5 separate regions of the Homo sapiens genome follow, and regions 1, 2, 3 and 5 are each linked to region 4. The links are contacts of gene promoters, found by promoter capture Hi-C in blood cells and fetal thymus (Javierre and others, 2016). All regions are on one chromosome and are shown on one strand. Each heading gives the region's core, a stretch centred on a gene start or on the middle of the fragment in contact. The rest is flanking DNA. Distances are from core to core; before and after follow the strand shown.

Region 1 (2,700 bases), core at 60-2,559, 360 kb after region 4:
CATATTTTACAGAGGGAAAAGGTGAAGCCCCATGTAAAACAGGGATTTCCCTCGGTGACACTTCCAGGCTGAGAAGGGCCGGGGATCTGGACACCTACCCAGAAACACTCCCACCCTGTCAATGCCTCTCTGAATTATGTGATCAACTGCCTGGAGTATGAACTAGGCACATGCAAATAGAGAACAGAGGTCTTGTTGAAAATATGATGCTGAATTTTAAAAACTCACTCCCCAAATTAAAGGAACAAGACCAGAGCATTTGGTTTCCTGTGGTCACTTGATCCCTCTCCAGAGCCAGCTGCTGCTCTCCATTGTCAGCACACTCCACTCACTGCCCTATTTCCAGAACAGGAGACTTTCTGCCCCATCCATGGCCGCAACATACCACTCACACACACACACTACATGTGCACGTACACACAATGCACAATACACATACCTGCACATGTGCAAACAGCACATACACACTGCACATGCATGTACACACAATACACTACACACACATGCCCACACAATACGCACAAATGCACTGTACATGTGTACACACAATGCAAAATACACATACAGGCACATGCAATGCACAACACATACACATACATGCACATGCCCAAAGACACCACTCACACACAGCACACACATGCACACGATATATACACACATGCATACACAACACACCACTCACAGCACATGCATACGCGCACACACACACACGCACACACACGCACACACGCGCGCGCACGCACGCACACACGCACACACACGCACACACACGCGCACACACACACGCACGCACACACACGCGCGCGCACACACACGCACACACGCACACGCACACGCACACACGCACGCACACACGCACACACACGCACACACACACGCGCACGCACACACACACGCGCACGCACACACACACGCACACACACGCATGCACGCACGCACACACACACACACACACACAGTTCTGCTTCCAGGTTTGCAGTCTTCCCAAATCCCTCCCGCCCTACCCCATCTGTTCCGTCTCTTCTAGGGAACGTGATCTTCTCCCTCCCACCCACCCTCCCCTTTCTGGGCACTGTCCCTCACAGTCAGCTGAGGACCTCATCCAAACTGGAGCCATGTCAGGCACAGGACAGGTGGGAGGCAGCCATCCATGGGTCTGGCCTTGGTCTCTGTGGCTCCATGGGGCTCCTCAATGCCCCCAAGCAAGCTCTGGCACCCCAGGGTCCTCACTCAAGAGTGTCTCTGTGGACAGGCCTGAGGCTGCTAGCTGCAGAAGTGCCTGCTTGCAACGGTGGCCATTGGCTGGCGTCTGGGAACTTGGCTTCGAAGCATTCCTTTAGTGAGGAGGTTCCTGCCTAGACTGTGCAAACAATGTGATTCATGGCAAACACCAGCCTTCCTTTTGAGGGCCTGGCATGTTAGTGGGTGGGGGGCGCACAACTGAGTAGCCCCCAAATCAAAACCATGAATTTTGGGTCTTAGCTGGAATTTCCCGAGCAGAAACACTGCATATATGGGGCTGTGTTTTGCTGCTGGAGGGAGTGTGTGCCCCGTGTGCACCTCACAGGGGGAAGAGCATGGGAGGGGAGAGAGCACAGGAAGTCTGCTCACAGGCCTCTCCAGGCTGTGCCTGTGAACTCTTCCCTTGCAGATCCAGCCATGCCTCCCGATTATAGGGCTGCGATAATGGTGTGGCTGTGCCATGGTGTGGCTGTTGTGGTGTGACCCTGCCGTGGCGTGACCCTGCTGTGGTGCGACCCTGCCGTGGTGTGGCCCTGCTGTGGTGTGACTGTGTGCTGAGTCCTGTGAATCCTAGCGAGTCCCCAGAGATGCAGGTGGTCTCGGGGACCCCCAGAACATCTGCTTTCACTGTTGCCTGGAAGTGTGGGGGGTGGGGGGAACATGGGGCTGCGAATTGCCTTCAGGGAGCGCATTCTTTTACGTACTTGGCCATTCACGTGGCAAATGTTTATGTGAGTGTATCAGTGCCACAGTAAGGGTTCCGCGGGAGAAACCCAGATAATCCTCATCCCAAGAGCTCCCAGTTCTCAGGGAGGGGGCAGGAAAGTGCTGCTCAGGTGGCTGAGCTTCGAGTGACAGGAGAGAGGTAGGATGTGGGGAGCTCAGGCATAGTGCAGGTGGAGCCCCAACCAGCTCAGAGCCCGGGGAGCCCAAAAGTCCCGTCAACAAATACAGCCCCGTGACCGTGCATGATGCTGGGGGAGGATGAGCACTGAGGGCCCCTGCCCTTCACGCTGGAGGGGAAAGCCTGGGTAATTTTATCTTGGGCTGCAACGAGGATAGCTGATGAAGTGTAGGAACAAGTTGACAACCACAATCATGAACTTGGCTCATTGGACAGTGCCAAGGGCGGCAGCAGGGACAGGAGATGGCAGCATGCCTGGGGCACCACCCAGGGCTGACACAGGGTGTTTCCACAGGTCGGGGCCCCCAGCCCCACGGGCACGAAGGCACCAGAACCTCGCTAAAAGCTGCAGGGCAGAACCCTCATCAATACCACCATGGGTACCACGTGCAGACGTAGTCGTACATATGGATCAGGAAACAGCATTCTGATTGATGTCAAAACAGAGCCGGAGGAACAGGCCCCTGCCGTCTGTGTGTGCTGGAAATTTCCACTGGGATCTCAACTGTTTGGAAACATAACTCAGTTGGCAAGGAAGACAAGAACCTTCCTGG
Region 2 (2,700 bases), core at 136-2,635, 310 kb after region 4:
GGAGTGTGGAGTGATGTGCGTCCAGGGTGAAGCTGCAGCCATGGTTGATGAGGCTTCCTGAGCGCAGGGCTCTGTGCTCAGTGGGTTTTCGCATTCATTCCCCAGTACCCCTCCGGGCTGCTTGCTGCTCCAAGCCCTGGAAAAGGATGTTGGGGTTTAGGAAGGCAAAACTCCATGCCCAGGTCGTGGCTGGTGAGGGGCGCTCCCCGCACAACCAGCCACTGCTTGGCTCCAACTCACGCCTGGATGCTGTTAGGCTGGACCCTGTCTGTTTGCAGATAGCGCCTGTTGACAGATGTGTCCTGCTGCAGACTTGAAACGCAGGACTGAGTCTCAGGGAGGGGTCTTCACTAACAGCCATGGAGCCAGGATGTCACTGAGACAGGTGCCGCCAGGGCCACACACTAACCAGTACAGGAACCTCTGGGGGGCAGAATCACGGCCTCCAAAACACCCACATCTTAATCCCCAGAGCAAATATGTTACCATATGTGGCAGAGAGGAATGCACCTGCCGCGTCTAGGAGGCAGAGGGGCTGCGGCGCGTCCCCAGGTGTCCCCTTGTGTCCTGACGATGCGTCCCCAGGCATCCCCATGCATTTCCAGGTGTCCCCACGTGTCCCCAGGCGTCCTCAGGCGTCCTGCCGAACAGCCCTGTGCCCTCCAGGTGTGCATTGTGCAGAAGCGGGACACGGAGAAGATGTACGCCATGAAGTACATGAACAAGCAGCAGTGCATCGAGCGCGACGAGGTCCGCAACGTCTTCCGGGAGCTGGAGATCCTGCAGGAGATCGAGCACGTCTTCCTGGTGAACCTCTGGTGAGCCTGCCATGGCCTCGCTGCAGAAAGACTTACCGTCCTGAAGCCGGGAAGGCACTGGCTATCCTCTCCTGCCCTTGGTGCTCCTTGGCCCTCGTGCCTCGGAGATGCCTCTGCCACCCACAGGCCCTCTCTAGCCCTCCTCATCTATCCCCCTTCCTGTGCCCCAGGCCTGGCAGTGGCCCAGGTGGCCATGACATGCTGGGGTTGGTTAATGCAGTGTCTCTTCTGAGCCTGCCGGAAGACCAGGGCTTCCCTACAATGGAGATGTGCTCCCATGGAGTCTCTGGCACTAGTCAGAGAGGGAGAGAGTTTAGGGACTGAAAAACTCACCACTGTCATCACCATCACCATCACCACCATCATCGCCATCACCACCACCATCACCACTGCAACCATCATCACTCTCATCACCGTCATCACTATAATCAACACAATCACTATTGTCACCACCATTACCACCACCACCACGACCACAATCACTGTTATCACCATCACCACCACCCTCAGTCCTCACTACCGTCATCCTCACCATCACCGTCACCACCACCACCATCACTGCCATCGTCAACACCATGGATGCTGGTTGTTAAATGCCAGCTCTTTGCCCAACACTGTCAAGAGTGGTACCTACACGGCCTCATTTTCTGTAACAACCCTCCGAGGCAAATGTCTGTATCCCCATTTTACCGAAGAGGAGGCCGGGCAGCCTGAAGCACCCGGAGCTGGCACTGTAGCTCTGCTCTGCATTTGCCACTCCCAGGTGCCTCTGGCCCCAGCTGGGCCACCTCCAGCACAGGGTGGTGTGTCTTTCCTCAGGATCTGGGCTCAGAGCTGCTCTGGGCTGGGGTGCAATCAGTGCCTTGGGCAGGCCCCTCCTCCTGGGAATGCCTGGTGGCTGATGCTGGGGTGGGGCTGTGGTCCTTAGGGGGAGTGTGTCAGCTGTGGGAGCAGCCATGACTGGCTCCCCAGCTGTGCGCACAACAGGCCTTCCATCGGTGCCCACAGGTACTCCTTCCAGGACGAGGAGGACATGTTCATGGTCGTGGACCTGCTACTGGGCGGGGACCTGCGCTACCACCTGCAGCAGAACGTGCAGTTCTCCGAGGACACGGTGAGGCTGTACATCTGCGAGATGGCACTGGCTCTGGACTACCTGCGCGGCCAGCACATCATCCACAGGTGTGTGCGTGGCAGACGGCGCAGGTACCTGCTGAGGTGGGCGGGGCTGAAGCAGCCTTAGGTCAGGCTGCCGGCACGGCGGCCGTACTCCCTCAGAGCGGGTCTAGCTCCTCTGCCCCACCCTTGCCTGAGTGCCTGCCCCCAGCTGTGGCACCTGTGCCGACCAGGTCAGCCCCATAGCTGTGTGCCTGGTGTCCATCTGGGGGGACCTCGTCCCAGCAGCCCCAGCTGAGACTGGGCACAGTGGGCTGTTAGCCCTGGTGGACAGACCACCAGGCTGGGTCACAGCAGGTGGCCTTCACCTGGTCCATTTAACTGAAGGCTCCTGTTTGCCCATCCACCACATCCCAGGGAATCCAAACTAATTTTAACATTAGCTTAAAGCAGATGAAATTAGGAAGCAGAGCTGGTGTGATGGCTCTGAAAATAAAATTTAAAAAAAGAAAATAGGAAGCAGATTATGAAGGAAGTGAAATTGGGAAGCAGAAATTAGGCTGAAATTCCGCAGCAATGGAACAAAATGAAAATATCTGTGAGGTATATTTTAAAGTCGAATGGACTGGTGTTTGCATTTCTGCTCTTGGGGACTCGGATGTCTGATTATGACCTAGGCACCAGTCACTGAGCACTGGCTGTGTACCTGGAAAAGTTGGGACAAAGCAAGAGCCGAGGTGGCTTGGTCTCCTAGAGGCCGAGTCTT
Region 3 (2,700 bases), core at 152-2,651, 390 kb after region 4:
ACAGGCCCCAGCTCCCTCTGTCCAGGCCATCCTCCTCCCCAGGGCTCCTGATGGGGTCCCGCAGGAGGGAGCAGAGCAGAAGGGGCCTGGGACAGCCATTCAGAAGCCTCAGCCCTCGCTCCATCCTTCAGCCCCGCAGGGACCACTGCAACCCCCAGGAGCATAGAGCGAGTCCTGCCAGGGCCTCCAGGGGTTCGGGGCTCACCTTTTCCACAAGCTCTTGATTTCTCCGGTACAGTGCCTGCTTCTCTTCAATCCACTTCATATCCTTGCAAATGGAATTGAAAGAAATAAAGACACTGAGGGAGGAACTCATAAACCAACGTTTAAATCGTGATGTGGCAGAACACCAAAGACCAGTCTGGCCAGCGTGGCAAAGCCCCGTCTCTACAAAAAATACAAAAATTAGCCGGGCGTGGTGGCACATGCCTGTGGTCCCAGCTACTCAGGAGGCTGAGGTGGGAGGATGGCTTGAGCCCAGGAGGTCAAGGCTGTAGAAAGTTATGATCGCACCACTGAAGCTTGTCTTTAGGTACAGCCAAATACCTCCCACCCACGTGTGCCCCCACGCCCGTGCAGATGGCTGCAGGCTCACCTGCCCCTGCTCCGCCAGGGCCTTCTCCAGGTCCTCTATCCGCGCCTGTGCCCTCTGCACTTCGGCTTGTAGCTGCTCACGGGTCTGTAGGACGGGAGGAAAGATACATCAAATTTTCTCTAAAAGCTGGGACAGACAGCACACACACTCGTGGGACGTCAGAAGGGTCTGTCTTTTGGTTCAGTTCATTGAGAAGTGACTGTTCGCCCTTCCTTTGGAAGAGATGCTTTCTAAGAGAGGGAGAACTGTTTTGTTTTTTTTTGAGACAGGGTTTGGCTCTGTCATCCAGACTGGAGCTCAGTGGCACAATCTTGGCTCACTGTAACCTCCGCCTCCCGAGCTCAAGTGATCCTCCCACCTCACCATCCTGAGTAACTGGGACCACAGGTATGCACCACCACACCCCACTAATTTTTGTATTTTTTGTAGAGACGGGGTTTCACCATGTTGCCCAGGCTGGTATCAAACTCCTGAGTTCGAGCAACCCACTTGCCTCAGCCTCCCAAAGTGCTGGGATTACAGGAGTGAGCCACTGCGCCCAGCCCTGGAGGGAGAACTTTAAGGCTTATTTGAAGCAAGAGATCTCACTTAGATTCTAAGGGGAAATCCTGCAGGTTGATTTTGAGAGCCTGTTAGGAGAAATCTTTGTTTACAGGATGACACAGCCAATGAGGATGACTGAGGCCTAGCGTGTGCTCAGCCCTGCCAGGTGCCGGCCAGAGGGCTTTGTTCGAGGGACTCTCCACATGGACCCGCTGGAAGCCCCGGGTGGTGCCGCTGCCTGTACTGGAGCTGCCCCTCTGGAAGCCCCGGGTGGTGTGGCTGCCTGTGCGGGAGCTGCCTCAGCCCAGGGCTCACTGCCTTCCTGAATTCTGTGTTCCTTAACTGACTCCCAGAGCCCGCCCCACATCTACAGGAAAAGCCCTGGCGCTTCCCCCGTCCGCATCCTGGTTTGTGAAGTCCCTCCCGAGTGCCACCGAGGCTTCTAGCCGAGGTCTGAGCCACCTCCCTTAATTCACTTTGCTGTGGTGGCTCCGAACCATGGGGCCACAGTGGCTCCTGCTCTCTCTGGGGATAGCTTCCAAGGGAGAGGTGCGTTTCGGGACAGGACGCAGGGTCAGAGGATCCATCAGCCGGGGTGGGGGGTGGGCGAAGGCGTGACCTGTGGTGCCCGCCCCCGAGTGCTTGGTCCCAGCTCCCTGCCCCCAGGCCGTCCTGGGCTCCTCCCATCACCCCAGCCTCTTCCCTCCCTTAAGGGGTCACAATCGTGGATGTGAGCCCTTGGGTTGGAGAATGCTTAGCAGAGAGGGAATTCCAGTTAGTCCTAACCCTGTTTCCGGACAGGGAAACGGAGCCCACAGAGGGCTGTGGGCCCCCTGCAGCCTCAGGACCGTGGCAGGGATGGGCCCACGTCCATGTCTTCAGACGCCTGTCCTCTCCTGCCCCCTTCCTTATCCTGAGGCTTCCTCGATTTCCACAGTGAGGAGTGACATTTCCAATTATAATACAGAATCAGACTGTGGGATGCCGGCTAGTCTATTTTCTTCATTAATCTTTTCTGTATCTTCTAGTTTTTAAAATAACCATGCAGCACTTCTCGGCATCAGATTTTCCTCTGATTCTAAATGACATTAAACTTTTTTTTACATGCAGTTTGGACATTTTTACTCTCTAAGCAAAGCTTCTGAGTTCTTTGCTTCCATGTGGCCCCCGAGCAAATGTTTCTCTGGCACCCGACAGGAAAAAGGGAAGACAGGATGCTTTCTCCAGCTCCTCCAGCTCCTGGCGAGCTTGGCCAGGAGGATGCGGCTGTTGCCCCGCCCCCGCTGTGAGGGAGAAAGGCTGGGCCCATGAGGCTCTGGGATGTCTCGGGGCTGCTGTGCTTTATGATGCTCTGAACCGAGGCCTTGACTTTTTCCTTTCTCCAAGGGTCATGCAAAAATTAAGTCAAAGTGAAAGAGGCGATATTTAAAGTCCCCAGTTACGGAGACAAATCTCTCCGAGCCTGAGGAGGGGACGCCCCCTCCAAGGCCAGCCCCCCCCACCCCGACTCAGGACAGGAGGAGGGCACAGAGGGGTGGAGCTCTCTCTTAGTTTTCACAACA
Region 4 (2,700 bases), core at 79-2,578:
CTTTAAGACCAGGATTCAGGATTCAGGATTCAGGGGCAGGAGCTTGTTGGAGGAAGGGGCCAAGGATGGGATCTAGGAACCAGAGTTAGGGGCAGGGTCCAGAATTGGGTTTGGGGCCTGATTCTGGAACCAGGGTTCCAGGTTCAGGGGTCAAGGACAAGTGTTCAGGGCCATAAGCTGGGGCCTGAGGTTGAAATTCAGGGTTCAGAGTCAGGCTAGATTGGCTTTAGAGGCAAAGGGCCACAGTATGAAGGCTGGGATTCTAGGGCTAGAATTCAGTGATTGGGGAACAGGGACAGGAGGTTGGGGCCACAGCCCTGTGTCAGAAGTTCCTGGGTTAGGGTTTGTGGTTATGTTTCAGGGTTTGGGGTCCAGGGCTCAGGGACCAGAGACAGACGTTTGAGAGCAGGTTCTGTAACCAGAGTTCTGCAGTCAGGATTTGTGGTTCCAGTGACCATGGACCTGGGGTTCAGGGCCAGGGTTGGGGATGGGCATTCCAGGGCCAGGGTTCTGAGGATTCGGAAATCAGGGCTGGGGCTGGGTTTGGTGCGCACAGACCCGGTTTCTGGGGTTTGGGTTCCAGGAACTGTTAACAGGGGTTCTGACAGGGTTTTAATATTGGAGTTTCGAGGTCAGGATTTGCAGACAGGAGTTCAGAGGCAGGGTCCCAGGGTCAACGGTCAGCTGCTGGAGTCTGGAGGATGGGGTTCGGGGATTCAGGGCCCAGGTCTTCAGGTCTCGGGCTTGGGGATCAAGACAGGGGTCTGGGCTCCCAGACTTGGGAATCAGGACAGGAGTCTGGGGTCCCGGGTACAGGGATCAGAGTCTGGGGCCTCTGGGTCTGGAGGTTCACGGTCCAGGGTCCAAGGCTTGCAGTTCGGGACCCCGGGGTCAGGGTCGGGGGTTCCGGGCTTGGGGCCTGCCGCCGGCACGGGGGACTTACGTCGTCGAAGAGCGAGCCCACGTTGGCCGTGACCAGCAGCACCGCGGTGCCCGGGGCGGCCGCCTTCCCCGCCATGGTGCCCGGGCGGCGCGGGCGCTGGGCTGGGCGGCGGCGGCGGCGGCCGCTTCCTCCGGGACCGGCCGGCCGGGGTCTTCGCGGGGCCGCGGGGCGTCAGCTGCGCCGGGGGGCGGCCCCGGGGCGCATCGCGGGCTCGGCGGGTCGGCCGGGCCTGGCCGGGGCTCCGGCCTCGCGCTCGCTCGCTCGCTCGCTGCTCCGCGGCCCCGCGCCCGTCGCTCGCCGCCGCGCCTCACAGCGGCCCGCGCGCAGCCATTAGATCCGCTGGGAAAGTTCCCGCAGCCGCCGCCGACTCAGGCTGAGGGCAAGTCCCGCCCCGCGGAGCCGAGCCCGGGGCGGGGCCTGGGCGGGGCGGAGCCTGACTCGGGGTGGGGCCTGTGCGGGGTGGAGCCGGGCCTGGGGCGGAGCCTTGCTGGGGGCGGAGCCTTGAGGTGCGGAGCCTGAGTTGGGCCTAGATCTGAACAGAGTGGGGCGGGGCCTGCGGGGGGCGTGGCTTGTGCGGGACTTGGTGTCCTTGTGGAGGCGGGGCCTGCCCCGGGGCGGGGCCTCCTTTCGGGGCGGGGCCTACGCGGGGCGCTCTTGCGACCGGCGGCCTAGTACTGGTCGCTCCCGGAGGGCGCTCCTGTCAGTCAGGCCCGCAAGAACGCCGCGCCCCCGCCCCGCCCCCCGCGCCGCGGCTGCGCACAGACTCCGCCCTTCGCACTTCTATGACGTCACGGCCCTGCTCCGGCGGCGCCTCTTAAAGGGGCCCTGGGTTCCGGGCGCCGGCGGCGGGTGCGCTCTCTTGCGGCTCTGAGGGGATGTTCCAGCCCCCGCGCGGCCGCAGTCGTCCAGCCGCGTGCCGGGCGTGCGGGGGAGGGGAGCCCACCGGGGCGGCGGCAGTCGCGCCTGCAGGGGCCGGGCCACGCGCGCCCGGCTCTCCGCGCAGACGGAGCGTGGACCGTGCAGCTTCCCGGCGCGTCCACCCGGCTCCCTGGCCGCGACCTCACTCACGAGGAGCGGCTGCGGCCCAGAGAAGACGGAGGGGAGGCGGCGTGAGGCCAGGCGCATCCTGACGTCGCGGAGGGCTCCGGCCCGGGCCAGGCTGGGTCTCAGCGCGGGGCGTGCAGGGAACCCTCGCAGGGACGAAGGGGGCTCCAGGGGAGGGGGCTGGTGCGGGCCCAGGAGCGCAGAGCACGGAGGAGCAGCCGGCTCGGCGCGGGCCCCGGGGCAGCGATGCTGATCCTGGCCGCCGGAGGGGCCAGAGCATGGGCTGGACCCTGGGTCTGAGGCCGCGGGGACACAGCCGCCGTGAACCGGGACATGCCTGTAGATGGAGGAGGAGAACCACATTTGTCATCTTAAAGCTTCCAGTAGCTACATTTTTTAAAGGTAACAAGTAATAGCCAAAGTTAACAATACGTTTTACTTAACCCAATAGATAGATACATCATTCAACATGTAACCAGAATTTAACAACCTCAGTGAGATTCCTTCACAGGAAGGCTTTGCACGGGCACCTGCCTCTTGGCAGCAGCTCACAAGGCCGCTTCCAGTGCTCAGCAGCCCTGTGTGGCCAGTGGCCACCATGCGGAGCAGGCACTCCGGAGGATTTTGTGGACACAGATTTAGGGGCGGTCAGGGCCTGGCAATGGGCTCTAGCGAGGCTAGCCTCCAGCTTCTGAGTAAACCGCCAAGGCAAT
Region 5 (2,700 bases), core at 188-2,687, 340 kb after region 4:
AGTGTGGGCAATGGGGATGCCCAGGTGTCACCCATGGGATCCCAGGCTCAGGGCAGCCTAGTAGGAGCGGCCCAGCCTCGGGCTCAGTGCCTGGGCCTGCCCACGCCACCTTCTGGGCCTCGGGTACAGGCTGTAGGGTTGTGGGGGGATGGAGGACAAGTGCCTGGCACGGGGAGGATTCACGCCTCCCAGATGAGGTCGGGGCGAGCACAGTGGCAGGGCCAGGAGCCCAGGGCCAGGGTCAGCACAGCCCCAGGCAGCAGTGGTCTGGGCGGAGTTGGCTCGGGTGTGCTGTGGTGCCCTGGGATCTTACCTCCTCGGGGTGGCTGAGCACGTGGCCCTCGGGGCCAGTGATGCCGAGCTCCAGCAACCGCTTCTGCTCCTAAAGAAACCAACAGGATGCCTCGCTCCAAGCCCTGAAGGGAGCCTGGGCCTTGGATGCTAAGCCCAAGGCTGGGAGGCCCCATTCCCCAAGTGGTCCTGGACCCCCAGGCCTCCCAGAATTTCCCAGCCACAGAACACTCAGAATAGAGGGCAGAGGGGCTTGGAGAGGTGTGATTCCTGCTCCCTGAGTTACCAAGGAGGGGACAGCTCGGATAGGGGAAAGTGGCTCCCCCAAGGCTGCAGGGCTCCTGACTGATGGCACCAAGACCCCACCCTCCCACCACTATGCCCATCACGCTGCCTCCCCCAGCGGGGGCATGTGTGGGGGTGTGCACAGGCAGGGAGGGCTCTGCAGGTCAGGAATGGACGACCACTCCTTCCTCCAGCACTGCCTTTCCGTGCAGATTTGCACTACGGCATCCGCTCGTGTCAGGGAAGACATGGTACCGGCCAGAAGCAGCAGCCCCAATACTGAGGCTCCCTCCCGCTGTATGTGGAGCATCCCTAGACCCAGGACAACCTCCTGACGGTGCAGCCGGGGCCTGGCCTTGGGCCACAGAAGTGTTTGTGATGCCCCGATGCCCTCACAGCTGGACGGGTGGACGAGGACACTGGGGACCCCCCACATGCCCCTGCCCGAGTGCCACCACCTTCCTGTAGAGCTCAGGAGGTGGGCAGAGCCCGTCCCGTCCCACGAAGTCTCACTGTGGGTTTGCAGTGTCAGGGAGGTGTGTCCTGTGTGGTGACCCCCACTGAGGTCCCACGGGTATGGGGTGGCCCACTCTCTGAACTCCATCTGTACCTGTGGGTGCCTCTGCTAGAGGGGAAAACAAGGTGCAGGGCCAAGGTTGCCTCAGCCCCAAGGGCCTGGGGGGTCGGCGCCACTGCACGCGGGCTCAGGCCCTCCCCAGCCCGGTGGGATGTGTCTGAAGGATGTGGCCCTGTCAACATGGGTGCCCTTGGCTGGAAGGAAGGTGGTAACCCAACCCCCAGCGGGTACCCCGCTCCACAGGAGGGGCCTCGATCCCTGGGGCTGACACTTTGCTTTTGAGGTATTTTGGATAAGAAGTGTTGATCAAGGAGAAGCTGTTTTATGGCCTCAAAGCTCCCCATCACCCCCCAGTCTCTCTAACTCACTGGTTGACCTTTGACTCGGGGTAAGCTATGACCCTCCCTCAAGGTTTTGTGGGATTCTGTGCTGATGTCTGCGTATCATGAAAGTCACCCTCAGACCCCTGCCCCACCCCACAGGCAGCCCCTGCCCCACGGCAGCCCCTGTGCCTGCCCCACGGCAGCCCTGCCCCACGGCACCTCCTCCACGATGTCCCCGTTCTCAGCGTGCACCTGGGCCAAGGCCCCCAGGTCCCGGATGATGCTGAAGATCTCGTACATCTGGGAAGAGAAGTGGTGGCGTCCTGGGTGGGGCTGCGCCTGCACCAGCAGCGGCCTGGGATATACCTGCCCACTCCGTTCCCCACGCCTGCCCTTACCTGGCTGTCGCTGCACTGGCACCGGTCCTTGTATGCCATGAAGACCAGGAAGGAGTTCACACCTGGAGAAGAGGCAGGGGTCAGAGGCTCAGCCATCACCAGTCAGACAACCTACGGAGCCTCTGCTGCTCCTGCCCACTGGAGGGTTGGGGGTCTTGGGCCCCTCCCCCGCAGTGCTTCCCTCACTGGCTTGCCAGCCCTGGGAGCAGTCCCCCGCTTCCATGCACACACCAGCAAGCTGGGAAGTGAGGCGGAGGCAGCTACATCCAGGCCCTCCTTGCCTGCTCCTGTGCTCCGGGTTAGGAACTGATTGTCCACCCAGCGGCAAATGCAGGTGAGAACCCCTCACACCCATCCAGCAGACCCCCCGTTACTGGAAGAGCCGCTGTGCCTGGGCTCTCGGCCTGGGTTCCACTGGCTCCCTCCTGGAAGTGCGGCCAGGGCCGCGCTGTGCTGGGGACCTGCATTCTGGCCGTCCAGCACATCCAGCACCTGCCTGCAGGGCCTTGGAGCCCCACTTGCCATGCCTGGCTCACAGTGCAGGCTTGTGGGACCACCCAGATCTCAGGGCTGGGCCCTTAGGACGAGCAGAAGGATGAGGGGCTGCCTCTGACGTTGGGGCCCAAACAGGAAGAGGGCTGAGCTCTCCTGTTTCCTGGGCAGCCACAGCCCATCCACCTCCCCCAGGACTCGGAACTTGTGTGGGGACCGGCCTGGGCCTGGAGGCAGGATCCCAACCTCCCATCACTCAAGCCCACCCAACCCATGGCATCTCCTCCTCGCTGGGTGGAAAGTGCTAGTGTGACAAGCTAAGGCACACTGGGGA

What was found. Contacts are between HindIII fragments. The CHiCAGO score rates a contact against its expected background, and 5 or more counts as called.
Region 1: a contact is called between a fragment that was not itself captured here and the fragment with the promoter of INPP5A in region 4, in 7 of 17 cell types (naive CD4 T cells, activated CD4 T cells, non-activated CD4 T cells and 4 more). The highest score is 13.4, in naive CD4 T cells.
Region 2: a fragment that was not itself captured here is called in contact with the fragment with the promoter of INPP5A in region 4 in 12 of 17 cell types (monocytes, naive CD4 T cells, M0 macrophages and 9 more); the score reaches 10.1 in monocytes.
Region 3: a contact is called between a fragment that was not itself captured here and the fragment with the promoter of INPP5A in region 4, in 3 of 17 cell types (activated CD4 T cells, naive CD4 T cells and non-activated CD4 T cells). The highest score is 11.3, in activated CD4 T cells.
Region 5: a contact is called between a fragment that was not itself captured here and the fragment with the promoter of INPP5A in region 4, in 8 of 17 cell types (naive CD4 T cells, activated CD4 T cells, non-activated CD4 T cells and 5 more). The highest score is 13.8, in naive CD4 T cells.

Annotation. Positions count from the first base shown.
Region 1 is chr10:132,178,782-132,181,481 of GRCh38, reverse strand. The region is part of intron 23 of JAKMIP3 (Janus kinase and microtubule interacting protein 3); the gene reads right to left. JAKMIP3-AS1 (JAKMIP3 antisense RNA 1) reads left to right here. Exons shown (of 4, transcript NR_184044.1): 3 at 1-21; 4 at 2,442-2,700. Among named protein-coding and RNA genes, the nearest start is that of JAKMIP3-AS1, 6.6 kb to the left of the region's middle. The HindIII fragment of the contact is 8,704 bases long and covers 1-2,700 here.
Region 2 is chr10:132,226,095-132,228,794 of GRCh38, reverse strand. It overlaps STK32C (serine/threonine kinase 32C), which reads left to right. Exons shown (of 12, transcript NM_173575.4): 3 at 667-818; 4 at 1,827-2,000. Among named protein-coding and RNA genes, the nearest start is that of DPYSL4, 40 kb to the right of the region's middle. The HindIII fragment of the contact is 5,425 bases long and covers 1-2,700 here.
Region 3 is chr10:132,143,086-132,145,785 of GRCh38, reverse strand. It overlaps JAKMIP3 (Janus kinase and microtubule interacting protein 3), which reads right to left. Exons shown (of 24, transcript NM_001323087.2): 12 at 596-679; 13 at 206-268. Among named protein-coding and RNA genes, the nearest start is that of JAKMIP3-AS1, 42 kb to the left of the region's middle. RefSeq lists an enhancer at 2,444-2,700. The HindIII fragment of the contact is 1,755 bases long and covers 524-2,278 here.
Region 4 is chr10:132,536,415-132,539,114 of GRCh38, reverse strand. INPP5A (inositol polyphosphate-5-phosphatase A) reads right to left here and starts at 1,328. Exons shown (of 16, transcript NM_005539.5): 1 at 944-1,328. The coding sequence starts at 1,018. LOC107984282 (a long non-coding RNA gene) reads left to right here and starts at 2,192. Exons shown (of 4, transcript NR_158224.1): 1 at 2,192-2,389. RefSeq lists an enhancer at 378-427 and a silencer at 1,208-2,307. The HindIII fragment of the contact is 3,408 bases long and covers 1-2,366 here.
Region 5 is chr10:132,196,097-132,198,796 of GRCh38, reverse strand. DPYSL4 (dihydropyrimidinase like 4) reads right to left here. Exons shown (of 14, transcript NM_006426.3): 5 at 1,875-1,936; 6 at 1,696-1,776; 7 at 314-382. Among named protein-coding and RNA genes, the nearest start is that of DPYSL4, 10 kb to the right of the region's middle. The HindIII fragment of the contact is 8,271 bases long and covers 1-2,700 here.